Regions from separate parts of the Homo sapiens genome. Here region 1 is linked to region 2. The links are contacts of gene promoters, found by promoter capture Hi-C in blood cells and fetal thymus (Javierre and others, 2016). All regions are on one chromosome and are shown on one strand. Each heading gives the region's core, a stretch centred on a gene start or on the middle of the fragment in contact. The rest is flanking DNA. Distances are from core to core; before and after follow the strand shown.

Evidence for each region. Contacts are between HindIII fragments. The CHiCAGO score rates a contact against its expected background, and 5 or more counts as called.
Region 1: a fragment that was not itself captured here is called in contact with the fragment with the promoter of IL22RA2 in region 2 in 1 of 17 cell types (neutrophils); the score reaches 5.5 in neutrophils.

What each region holds. Positions count from the first base shown.
Region 1 is chr6:137,302,051-137,308,495 of GRCh38, reverse strand. LOC105378017 (a long non-coding RNA gene) reads left to right here. Exons shown (of 3, transcript XR_943043.1): 2 at 1-70; 3 at 2,595-2,724. Among named protein-coding and RNA genes, the nearest start is that of IFNGR1, 86 kb to the right of the region's middle. The HindIII fragment of the contact is 4,598 bases long and covers 1-4,310 here.
Region 2 is chr6:137,168,779-137,175,253 of GRCh38, reverse strand. IL22RA2 (interleukin 22 receptor subunit alpha 2) reads left to right here and starts at 1,610. Exons shown (of 7, transcript NM_052962.3): 1 at 1,610-1,841. RefSeq lists enhancers at 2,636-2,855, 2,752-3,510. The HindIII fragment of the contact is 14,362 bases long and covers 1-4,008 here.

The DNA.
Region 1 (6,445 bases), core at 762-3,261, 130 kb before region 2:
TGGTTTTCAAAGCTCCTCACAGTTTGGAAACAGCGAAGCAGACCCCACCAGGACTGTACAACATTATGGAGTAAGCACATAGCCTGGATTATGAAAGGGGTCTTGGGAGGCTTAGGAAAGTTACCTGTATATACTGTCCTTTTTATATATCAATATTGATATTGCCAGAGATAGAGAGAAGACACTGTTTTTAAGCCAGGTTTTTTTTCTGATAAGGAAAAATGTTTAGTTAAAATCATTTTTGGCATAATTAAAATGTGGAAAAAAAAGGGTCAAGAAATGTAATTTTCTGTGACTTTTAAAATATGAATAGAAATCCCAAATATTTAATGCCTTAATCCTTGCTCTATGTGTCAACATAATTAGACTTTACAGTTTGACCTAAGTAGCTACACTTTGCCTTGGAAAAAATATTAGGATAAGCAATATCTATATATGCCTTTAGACCTAACGCAGCATAAAATATGATAAGTAATACTCATAATTATTGGATTTGACAAGTGGGCTGTTTTTACAGCTATGTGACTTCTAAATAACTAGATGCTTTAAGTACAGTTTAACGTTATTAAATGAGATTTTATTTACAAAATGTCTGGCACATAATAAACAATTAAAAAAACCATGTGTCATTAGCACTCTCAGGTCAGGCCTATTGTGGAGCATCTGTAAATGCAGGTGGTGCTAAGTCTGATCACAAAATAACTGAAATCACAGATTACCAATCAGTTAACAACACTTATTGGGTACAGAGTCCTGCAAATTCAGACACTGTTATGCAGAAAGGAAGGAAGTTCATGTTAGAAAATAGACTAAGCTATATGAGACCCAAGAGGAAGTTAGGCTATAAAATGGAAACACACACACACACACACACGACGGTTTCTGATCACGGAGTTCCTCAAATTTTAAAAATAAATAAGAACATGCTGACTTTTCATCTACCCGCCAAAGATAAAGCTAAAATACATAAAGACAGGTAGTCTAAAATGCAAGGGTCACAGGACAAAAGGTCTGTACCCATGAAGTATGGAATAATTTCTTAAACTACTAACCCAACCCAACTACCAATCATTGGTAATCTGTGATTTCAGTTATTTTGTGATCAGACTTAGCACCACCTGCATTTACAGACGCTCCACAATAGGCCGGGCCTGACAGTGCTAATGACACATTGTTTTTTTGAATGTTTATTATGCGCCAGACATTTTGTAAGCAACAGACCTCTTTATGCACTTGTAAGGGCAGAAAGATGTGACACCTTTCCTCATCCAGCACAGCTGACATTTCTATAACAAAAGACTGACTGGTTAGCAAGAGAAAAGCGTAACAAATTTATTTAATCAAAGTTTTATGTGACATGGGAAACTTCAGAGATGAAGACCTAAAGACCCTGGGAAAACCATCTATTTTTATGCTTAGGATCAATGAAGAATGGGTAGCCGTGTAGAAGTGTGATTGGACCAAAGGGTAATAGACTGAGGGCAGAACCCAGTGAGGTCTGACTGATCAGATTCTTTTTGGCCTCCCTGTGTAGCCTTCTTTCCTCCTGGATATGGGGCAGGACCCATCTGGAATGAGAATTTTCAAGGGAGAAGGGAGAGAGTGACCTTTATATGTTTTATGACTTGCTTTGGAAGAAAGAGGTTCTAGTTTCTGTGACCCACCTTGGGAAAGAGGAATTCTGGTTTCTATGACTCGCTTTGTGGTAGAAAGAGGGGCAACAGATAGGAGGACGGGAGAGGAGCAGAAGGACCGTGCCTCTCAGTCTTTCAATCTCCTTTAGTTCAAAGTACTCAGCATGCCAAGGTGCCTTACTTTGGGGTATCATATTGTCAGCCCCAATACCCTCATGACTATCAAAGAGTTTTACAGAAGACTTTTACTAGTCTCAGAATTAGTAGGGAACAATCTTTTTGAGCTAAAAGATGGCCAATATGTAACTTTGCACATAGTAGGCACTCAGATGTTTTGAATGATAAATTGTTAGGGTTAAAAACCATTAACTCTGTAAAGGAAAATTAAGTATTGCTGTATCTATTTGGCCCAACATATCCTCCATGAACTAATTAGAGTAATGACTATTTGCAGACATTTCCACACAGGTAATTATTTGTAAGCAAGTTAACATTTTTTTAGAGGGGAGGGAAAAATTCAAATAATAGTTATTTCAGATATTATTCTCAGTTTTATGATATGAAATACTGGTCTTAGTATATGTACCAATAATGTACATATATGTATAATAATACCAAAAACTTACAGTACATATATGTGCCAGATACCATTATAAGCACAACTATACATGTGTATACATTCATTTAATTCTCACAAAAACCCTATCAGGTAAGTCCTATTATCCCCATGTTACAAAAGAGAACACTGAGGCTTAGAAAGGTTAAGTAACTTACTTCGGATCACACAGCTAGTAAATGATAAAGACAGAATTCAGATGAGATCAGGCACATTCAGGGTGGTATGGCTGTAGACATAAAGCCAGAATTCAAACATGGGCAGTGTATCTTCATTATCTGTGCTCTTAACCCAAATGTTATGGTGTTCCTCCAGTAAACTAACTAAGATGTATTTCATTCCAGTATCTCTCACAAGACTGGAATTTCCACCAAGGCAAAGTGTAGCAACTCAAGCCACGTCTCATAAATCCCAGTGTTGCATATTCTCCTTAGTATATTTAAAATGACAGCTGATGATAAAGGAAAATCTGCTTTCAATAAATCTCAAGCTCAGGCTCAATTCAGTCTATCATATCACTTTGTAATATGAAAAATAAAATGGAAAATCCATATATACATTAATGATCACCTTATTTATTTGTTCCATCATCCAGACTTTGAATGGAAGTGGATGAAAAGTGGTCCAATGTTGGGAACAGGCCCCCCAAAACCTGGCCATAAACTGGCCCCAAAATTGCCCATAAACAAAATCTCTGCAGCACTGTGACATGTTCATGATGGCCATAACGCCCATGCTGGAAGGTTGTGGGTTTACCAGAATGAGGGCAAGGAACACCTGGCCCACCCAGGGCAGAAAATTGCTTAAAGGCATTCTTAATCCACAAACAATATTATGAGCGATCCTTAAGGACATGCTCCTGCTGCAGATAACTAGCCAAACCCAACCCTTTATTTTGGCCCATCCCTTCGTTTCCCATAAGGGATACTTTTAGTTAATCTAATATCTATAAAAACAATGCTAATGACTGGCTTGCTATTAATAAACACTGGGTAAATCTCTGTTCGGGGCTCTCAGTTCTGAAGGCTGTGAGACCCCTGATTTCCCACTTCACACCTCTATATTTCTGTGTATGTGTCTTTAATTCCTCTAGCGCCACTAGGTTAGGGTCTCCCCGACCGAACTGGTCCCGGCAGTCCAAAAGGAATTAAAACAGAATTTAATTAGACATTGTATTTATGTCCCTATGTTTTTCAACTTTCACATACTGTAAATAAAATTATAGTCCCCTGTGTAATCATTTCCATTAACACTGATTTCCTGAGTGATCTGTGTGATAGAAACTTGTCAAATTCATAATCAATATGGATCAAGCAGAAACTATTAGCTCTGTTCTACCTGGATAATGCCTAACTCCAAGTGTGTTGTTCAAAGACACCCTTATCATGATCCTGCTGCAGTTTGGAGTCTTGCACCAGTGTCCTGCCTGTCAAGAGCTGTGAAGACCTAAGCTATTTACCAAAAAGCAAGCTAACAATTTATCCTGCCACAATTTCATGGATAATTGCAAAAGCCACAAGACTCTGGATTAGACTCAAAGGACTTTCTTACTTCCAACACAACGGGTAGCATGTGTTTTCATATTCACATCAACCCCTTGTTCTGCTAAGTCTCACTGGAGTAATGAAGGTGGGCTGGGTCGATACATGAAGGAGGTTTGCATCATATTGTAACTAGTATAGCCAGTTTGCTAGCTTACTCTAAAAGTAACCCCTCCCTCCCTTTGTTCCTTGTTACATGTAACTGTTTGCTAGAGAATTCCAGTGGCCAATATTGAAATAATGTAGGCATAAAGTGGAGATAGCAGTTGCAATTTTCTCCCTTCTGAGAAAAAATTGGTGTTCAATTAATCCATAACCTGAACCCTGCTGAGATGATGCCAGTGAGGCCTCTGGGTGGTCCATTACTGAAAAAAGTCACCAGAAAATTACAAGCAAACTTGCACCCCGCACCATGCTGGTGCATAGTTTCCATGCCACCTTTCCCCTTTAAACCTCTTTAGCCAAACTGAGAATTTGAGATGGTTTTTTGAGAGTTGAGTCAGGCTGTTTCCTCAAGCTTCTAGCACTTGAAGAAACCTGCTTTCCTCCCACTAATCCTCACTTCTCATGTCTGGCTTTTCAAGCAGTGAGCAGCTGAACATGAATTTGGTTACAATAGCCAAGGAATCCCAAATTTAGGAAAACTTTATTTTTCTTTAATGGGCTACAAACAAACCCGCTCATTAAAGAAAATAATATATCTCTCTCTTTGCCCTAGAGAGAGATATTATTATACTGGACAGCAAACAAACCTGCCCTCTGTTGTGGAGAGAGATCTTACCTCTGTTTTCCAAGACTATTTACTATACAAACATCTTTGAAAAGAACAAGGGGTCTGTTAGTTCTGCTCACAAGATGTAAGAAATGAGAGAGATCTACCTTTCTCTCTGGAGAACTACCTTTCAACATACCTTTACTGCCGAGCCATGTGACTACAGCCATTTGTCTGCAACATACTGCCATAGCCAGGTGGCCCGACTGAGTCAAGGATCAGGATCAGTTTGCAGGAACTCTGATTCCCATCCAACAGTAAAATCCTTATCATAAACCTCCAAACCACAGAAGCCTGGAAATCTACAAATACTACTCATCCAGATGCTGACCAGCCCACTAAAAGTGAAAATAGACTTCTGCTGTAACTATTCAGAAGAGAGAAGGAATCTCTGAGGGTTTGTACTCACTCTTTTTCTCCTTCCCTTTAGCACCCCCACTCCTACCCAGAAAGAATACATATCATCTACTGTTCTGTTTAATCTATTTAGATCATGTCTTTGGCAATTTATGGACTTTGCAAAATTTGTCTCTACACTATCTTCCTTCTACTATCATCATTCCTCGTGCCCTCATCCCACAACCTTGTCCCCACACTAACATGGTACATTCATCAAGGCCAAAGAGTTTACTCTTCCTGCCCAGTCCTAGCCTTGCTCTCTTATCTAACGGTTTCATTTTTCAGACAGGTATCATCTCTAAGAAGGCTTCTGTGTACATTCCCTCAGTGTAATTAGTCTATTCTCATGCTGCTAATAAAGACAAACCTGAGACTGGGTAATTTATAAAGGAAAGAGGTTTAATTGACTAAGTTCAGCATGGCTGGGGAGGCCTCAGGAAACTTACAATCATGGCAGAAGGGGAAGCAAACACATCCTTCTTCACATGGCAGCAGCAAGGAGAAGTGACGAGCAAAAGGGGGAAAAGCCCCTTATAAAATCAGCAGATCTCGTGAGAACTCACTCACTATCATGAGAACAGCATGAGGGTAACTGCCCCCATGATTAAATTACCTTCCACCCAGTCCCTCCCATGACACGTGGGGATTATAGGAACTACAATTCAGGATGAGATTTGGGTGGGGACACAACCAAACCATATCACTCAGTATTAGAACAGTTGCTAATCCTTTGCCCTTCCACGCACCCTGTGTAAACTCCTGTCACTGGCTTAATTTACCACTTTGTATTGCTATTACCAGCTGACATGTTGGCCTCTGTGCCTAACTTATGAGGGACTCGAGGTCAGAGCGTTTGTCTTTATTTACAAATAACCAACAGCTTGTTAAAAGATAAACTTAGGCACACTAAACTTTCAAAGAGTTTATTTGGGCAAACCGTGATTCATAAATCAAGCAGCTGAAGATGACAGGAGATTTTCAGCTTCACCAAAGGAGCATGGGGGGAAAACTTTAATAAGGCTCTTCTCGGAAGCAAGACGAAGAAATGTGTGACTGGTTACAGTGGAATACTAGCCTTAAAGTCTCTAGTTAAAGGTGAGTTGGCCATTCCTAATTGGTGAAGTCCCGAGTTAAGAGCTGAGTTGGTGATTCCTGATTGGTAAAGACCTAATTAGAGGTTAGCTGGCAGTTCCTGATTAGTAAAGTCCCTAATTAGGAGTTAGTTGGCAGTTCCTGATCAGTAAAGTTTAAGTTTCATTTTACCATTTACATTGCATTAGGTTTCGGTTTGCTTACATAGAAACCCAAGGTGCTGAAGTTAGGCCATCTCAGCCGAATGGCCTCCCAATAAATTATTTTTAATGAGCCTAATGCAATGCCTGGCACATAGTGAACATTCAAAAAACTATCTGCGAAAGGAAAAGTGAATGAATAGTGCAGTCACACTGAGCTCATTCACAATTGAACAGAAGGCTCCGAGGAG
Region 2 (6,475 bases), core at 361-2,860:
CATGAAGGAGGTGAGGGAGTGAGCCTGGACATCTCAGGAAGAGCATTGGAGCAGAGGGAACCTTGCTAATGTAGGGATGTGCCTGATATGTTTGAGAAACAGCAAAAAGACCACCCAGGAGGGAGCACCATGGGTTGGGAGGAGAGCAGTAGGAAATAAATTTAGAGGTAACAGGACCTGGTTATATAGGGCTTAGTAAGGGACTGGAAAAATGTTGACTTTCAATCTGAGTGAGATGGGAAGGCATCACAGGGTTCTGAATAAAATGTTCTATTCTGACATTTAATAGGAACACTCCACCTGATGCAGAGAACAGTGACAGAGGCAGGCAGACCAGTAAGGAGGCTGTGGCCACAGTCCACACAAGAGATGATGATAGCAGGTTACCAAATGGGTACAGTGGAGGAGGTGAAAACCAGTTGGATTCTGGTTATGCCATGAAGATATTTTCAGGATCAAACAATACATACAAACATACTGGTGCATGGGCATAATGATTGATGATATCTGGTAGGGGTTTCAAGGTGACCTTGGGTGAAGAATAATCAAAGCTACATATTGGGTACAATGTACATTACTCGGGTAAGAGATGCAATAATATCTCAGACTTCACCACTGTGCAATCCATCCAGGTAACCAAAAACCACTTGCACTATTGCACAGCTACTGAAATAAAAAAAATACATATTTTTTAAATGTTACCACTCCTTTATGTTTTGGTTTTCAGAAATAAATTTTAAAAAATTTTTTAAAGAATAATCAAAGCAAAATCAATAGCATCTTTTATCCAGAAAAATAAGAGTGAAGAGCAGGAAAGGTTAACCTCATTAAGCCCTATGTCCTATGAGTGGAGATTTTAAATAATATATTAGTGATCACAGTCCAAAAACTCAGATTAGTCATTGTGCTTATCACCTGTGTTTGAATAACAATGTTTCTTTTTCTTTTCTGAATTCAAGTTCACAAACCATTTTGAATTTTTGCATGCCAATTATTTCCAGAATGCCGAACTGCTTAAAGGACATGAATATTACTCGGTGGAGCTATTAATGTCCCAGCAAATAAGAAAGAACAAGTTGTTTCCCTGTTGTTGGCTCTACAGCTCTATAGTTTTCCAGAGAGGGAGAAGGGTGGTGTTCAGATTATCATTCATGATGAAACTTTTAAAAGATGCTCAGCTGCCCACCAAATCATAGGATGAAGGAAAGGGCCTAGCAGAAACACAGTTGCTCTGACTTCCCTTCAATGGACAGCACCAAAGTCATACTGAACACCAGTTTTTAAACACTTCTCTGAAAAACAATAAGAAACACTTAGCCCTTTGCTACCAAGACCTGGTTGAAGAAAATGCTGTTGGTTCCCTGAGGGCTGGCTCTGTAGTCTTGTTCATTTCTGCATCCCCGATGTCTAACACAGTGCCTGGCATATAACAGTTGCTCAATAAACATTTGTTTGACTGAATAAACGATTCGAGAAGCCAATGGACAAATGTTCTTTGACATCATTCTATCCCTTTATGGAATGTCTATTACAAGCAAAGAATAACACAAGAGGAGTTTCATAATACTCCTCAGGCCCTGAGGCTAACCAGATCTGATTTCAGCCCTCACTTTACCACTACTCGCTATAGAGCCCTGGTCAAGTTCTCTCCACCTCTCTATCTATGTCTCAGTTTCTTCATCTGTAACATCAAATGAATAATAATACCAATCTCCTAGACTTCATAAGAGGATTAACAAAGACAAAATATGGGAAAAACATAACATGGCGTCCCATAATTATTAGATCTTATTATTGACACTAAAATGGCATTAAAATTACCAAAAGGAAGACAGCATCTGGTAAGTAAACTTTATTTATTTATTTATTTATTTTTTTGAGATGGACTCTCGCTTTATCGCTGCCCAGACTGGAGCGCAGTGGCGCGATCTCGGCTCACTGCAAACCTCACCTCCTTGACTCAAGCAATTCTCCTGCCTCAGCCCCACTGAGTAGCTGGGATTACAGGCACACACCGTCACGCCTGGCTAATTTTTGTATTTTTAGTACAGACGGGGTTGCACCATGTTGGCCAGGCTGGTCTGGAACTCCACACCTCAAATGATCCACCCACCTCCGCCTTCCAAAGTGCTGAGATTACAGGTGTGAGCCACCGTGTCTGGCCACATCTTGTAGATAAACTTTAAAAATCTTTTTTCTTTGTTATGAACAATTTTAAGTACATACAAAAGTAGAGTATAATAAACCTGACACCCAATTTCAACAGTTATCAGCTCATGGATGGTAACCCCCTTTCCCAGGCCTTTGTATTATTTTGAAGCAAATCCCAGACATGACACCATTTCATCTGTAGTACTATAATAGGTAGCTCTAAAAAAAAATAAAAATAATAACCAAAATTCCACATCACACCTAAAAACAATGAAAAATGATTCCTTAATTAGATAAATGGTTGGTCTGCTGGAAGCCACAAGAAGAAAGGAAGAAGAGAATCAAATCTGTTCAAGACAGGGGCTTAAGCAAGTTCTCTCCAGAGTCAACACGATGATGGAAATACCCGTTGTCACCGTCAAGGTGGACTCTCCCTGCTGCGGAGTGGGGCCGAGGTCGGGGGAGGGCAGGGAATGAAGCCAGCATTTCATGCCTGAAAGGAGGCAGAGCGGAGATCCCCTAGTGACTAAAACTTTCTTACTTCCCAAACAAAACAGCATTTCATTTGAAACAATTCTGTACAAATTCTTCTGCTTCCAGATTGATGGGAAATTAGAATTTAATTTTATCTTTTCATCTACCTTGAGGCCTTGTTGACAGTGTTGGCTTTTATGCAGGTTCTATTACACAACTAGAGCTAATTGAACAGTGACAGAACTGGTCTGGTTTGTGAAATTTAATAGAGCACCAAAGCTCACGTTTTGGGGAGAATTCAGTTCTTAAATATGTTTTGCTTATCCCACTCCGCCTAATTTCCCCTCATTTGTTTGACAAAGTCAGCAACCCAGTGGAAACCTCAATTTCGTTCTCTGCTGCTCTCATCATAAAACCTCGAATTTAAATATTTTCCTTTTATTCTTAGCTGGAACTTGGAGCAATTTGGTGGCTTCAAAATGAGATCTATTGGTATTGAAGCCATTGAACATCAATAGTGCAAACCCACATTATCATCCCCCATTTAAATACCAAAGTAAATGTGAAGTGGTAAACATTAGCAGGGAAGTGAATAACAATGCTGAGAAGGTTGCAAGCTAAGGAGCATGAAGAGGTGAAAAGGGAACATAAAACGTGCTGCATGTTTCTTCTTTCAAAGCAGAAGCTACCTTATAAGCACCAAAAACTTCAGCTGGAGGAGATACAAGCCTGGATTCAGAAGACTGCCGTAGAACAGAGGCACTGGGAAACCTGATGTTATCCACACAAACCTTTCCACATAGGGCTGGCCTCAGAAAGCATGCAGCGCAACTGCCCTCCAATAACTGAAATTTGTTAAATGAAAATTGATAGTGGCCTGGTCCACTGGGATCTGGTTTCTGAGGAAATTTCTGATAAGCTCTCTTCTAAGACCCTTTGCTCAGGAATAAGGTTTTCCCTGCGTGGCCCCAGCTCCACCCAAGGCCTCACAGTCTCAGGCACCCGAGTGTCTAGAAATGTTCACAGGTGCTGGGTCATGGGGTTGGGATGGAGGGTCTACACTTGAGAACAACTCCTCTGCTCCTGTCTGTATGCAGAAGGCCATTCTTCCCTTTCTCTTTGAAGACTCTGCCTCCTCCACATCAGCAGCACCCAACCCTCTCCTTTTAGCACTTTCATTTTACCTGCTTCCCCTCCTACATTCTAGTCTTGGTTAATGGTTGTGATGGAGGGTGGGAGGCAAAGTGGCTTTGCAAGCCGGCTTCTGAAACTTTTCATCTCCCATTTAAGAAGGAGAAGAAAAAGACAGAGAAGGTTAGATGAATAGAAGTTGTAACCCTGCTGTAGCTCCTTATTCTCTACTTTTCCCTTGAGAAGCAAGCTTAAGGAAGGCAGGGGCAATGTCTCTCTTATCTGCTGCTGCATCCTTGCTGCTGAGACTAATTCCTAGTTTATGGTAGGACAGCAAATATTTGTGAAATGTTATTGGATAGCTGCATGGATGGATACTGCTTAGCAGCCATCATTATTCCTTACTAAAGGAGCTATTCTACCAAGAACTTGAAAGAGACTATACAAGAGAAAATAGAAACCAGTATACATTTCCCCTTTTGATCTAAAGAGCCTCTCTTTTTAACAACAACAAAAAAACCTTTATGACTTGCGGAGGCTGAAGCAACTTCATTTTTAGATGCTAATCTGCCATGTTGACTTCTGATTAATCCTTTTTCAGGAAGGCTTCTAAGATTTCTAGTTTATCGATTGTTCCTTGTATGAGAACACATACTTGTCATAAGTCCTGCCTGTACGTCAAAACCACCTTGATGTTATGATACTTCAATTGTCATATACATCCCTTCTGAATCACGCAGGCCCTTTCCCGGTGGTATGTAAGCCCTGGGTCTGTTGCGGGATGATCAAAGACTGAAGAGACCGAAAGTTCAGGAAAGTTTATTAAATTAAGGTGATCACCGGCTCAGCTAGTCTGAGCCCCAAACAAAGGGCTTTTCCTACTTTTAAATATCTTAAGGTGGGAACTACGTGAGGCGGGAATCGAGTTACAGAAGCAAGAAACAAAGGCAGTATTACAACGTTTGTTACATTTTGAGAAAGACATGTCTTGCAGCCTAAACTTATCAGTCTTGTGACCCTGCAGTCATGCAGGAACTCACTGGGCCTGTAATAAACTTTGAGGAATGTGGAGTTGGGGAGTATAGATAAGGTCCACTGTCCACAGAGAGAAGACAGGCTGTTAATATTCCCTTTTAACGTGAATGTAAGGCAGGGGTCACATTTTGCAGGAACTTTAAAAGGATTTTAAAATTTGTATTACTACTACTCTTAGGTTATAGTTGATTTCATTAATTCCTTCTTCATTTCCCCCTTTTGGTGCTCGACACAAATGTAGATTAATAAAGAGCACCACAGTTAGCTATTTCTTCTTGAGTGGGTACATACTCATCTTGGGATACCAGTTGGTACTTTTGCAGAGCCTTTATTCGGATGGTGGTATGTCTGTCTACCATTGAGTCTATGGTGGATTGGATGCTTCCGATTAGAAATGGCAAGAGACAGGGAAGCAGTAGGCATCCACCTTTTATGGCCACAAAGCCTAGTATTACAGTTTTAAAGCCTCCAAACCATGAAAACCGTCCTCCAAAGAGTGAACTCGGGTTCCAACCAGACCATGTCTGAACCAGAACATGAGCTAACTTCCGCATCCTGGCAGTGATTTCCATGACAGCTTTTCCATTGTCATCAATTTGTAAGCAGCAATTTGTTAAATTAAGTTTTCCACAAACCCCCTTCTGAAGCTAAAACATAATTCAGTACTAACCTGTTCTGATAAATGGCATCTCTCATCTGGGTTGCCTGTATGGCTAGCAAGTCTAAGGCTCAGGCTGTTTCATTGACTATAATTTCCAGAACTGCTTGCAACCTTATGATGTGGTTTAACATATAAATAGGAGTACAGTATCCCCATGACCCATCTTGTGCCCAGGGGGCCATTCATTATCTTTCCAGCCCCCTATTTCAATGTCCTTTTTAATGTTAGTATTTATTTTTTCCTCAGTACTTATTTTTGTAAACACATTTCTTTTGACTCTTTTTCTGCCTTCATCATAGACCAGATAGCTTAGATCTTCCCCTTGCTGCAGGGGGAGTAGCAAAAAGAATGGCCTTATTGTTCCTAATATACATGCCCCTGTCCATTTATCGGTTAGTAATTGATAAGCCTTTGTTCCACAGATCCTATATAATCCTGCAGGTGCTCTCCAAACAGTTGGAGCTTCTAATTGGTACCATGATTGATTTAGTGTTGGGAACTGCAAAAAGGGATTAAAGTGACACAGAGGAATCATCTATAAAGCTTCTCCATTGTGTTCTGTTCTCAGATTCTTCAAAATATTGTTGACCTAGGCAAGTTGTTTCCCCTATCTGGTTCTGAAAGGACTTGCCCCAACAGGCAATACAGTATTTTCCAATGATGGGGTTCCTTAATAGCCAAACACTTGGATTTGCATTGAATTTTGTAACAAATTCAGGCAAGGTAAAATTGTCTTGCAGCATCAATTCTCTGGCTTCCCAGGGCCATTGATCTCTCATATTAGCACCTCCACATACATAACAGGAAGTAACTCCTAAATTGTTAGCAATACTTTTGGCTAGCTGGACAAACAGATTTTCAGTTGATATAGGAGGAATTTGAATTTTTGATACTTCAGAATTAAAGTGTTCATTGAAAGATTTATAAAACCTGAACTGTTGTATTGGGCTAAGTTGAACTTGAGTCCTTTGGGTTTTCTTTGTGATGACCAGAGGAATACCAAGTCCTAGGAGAGCTCCTGCC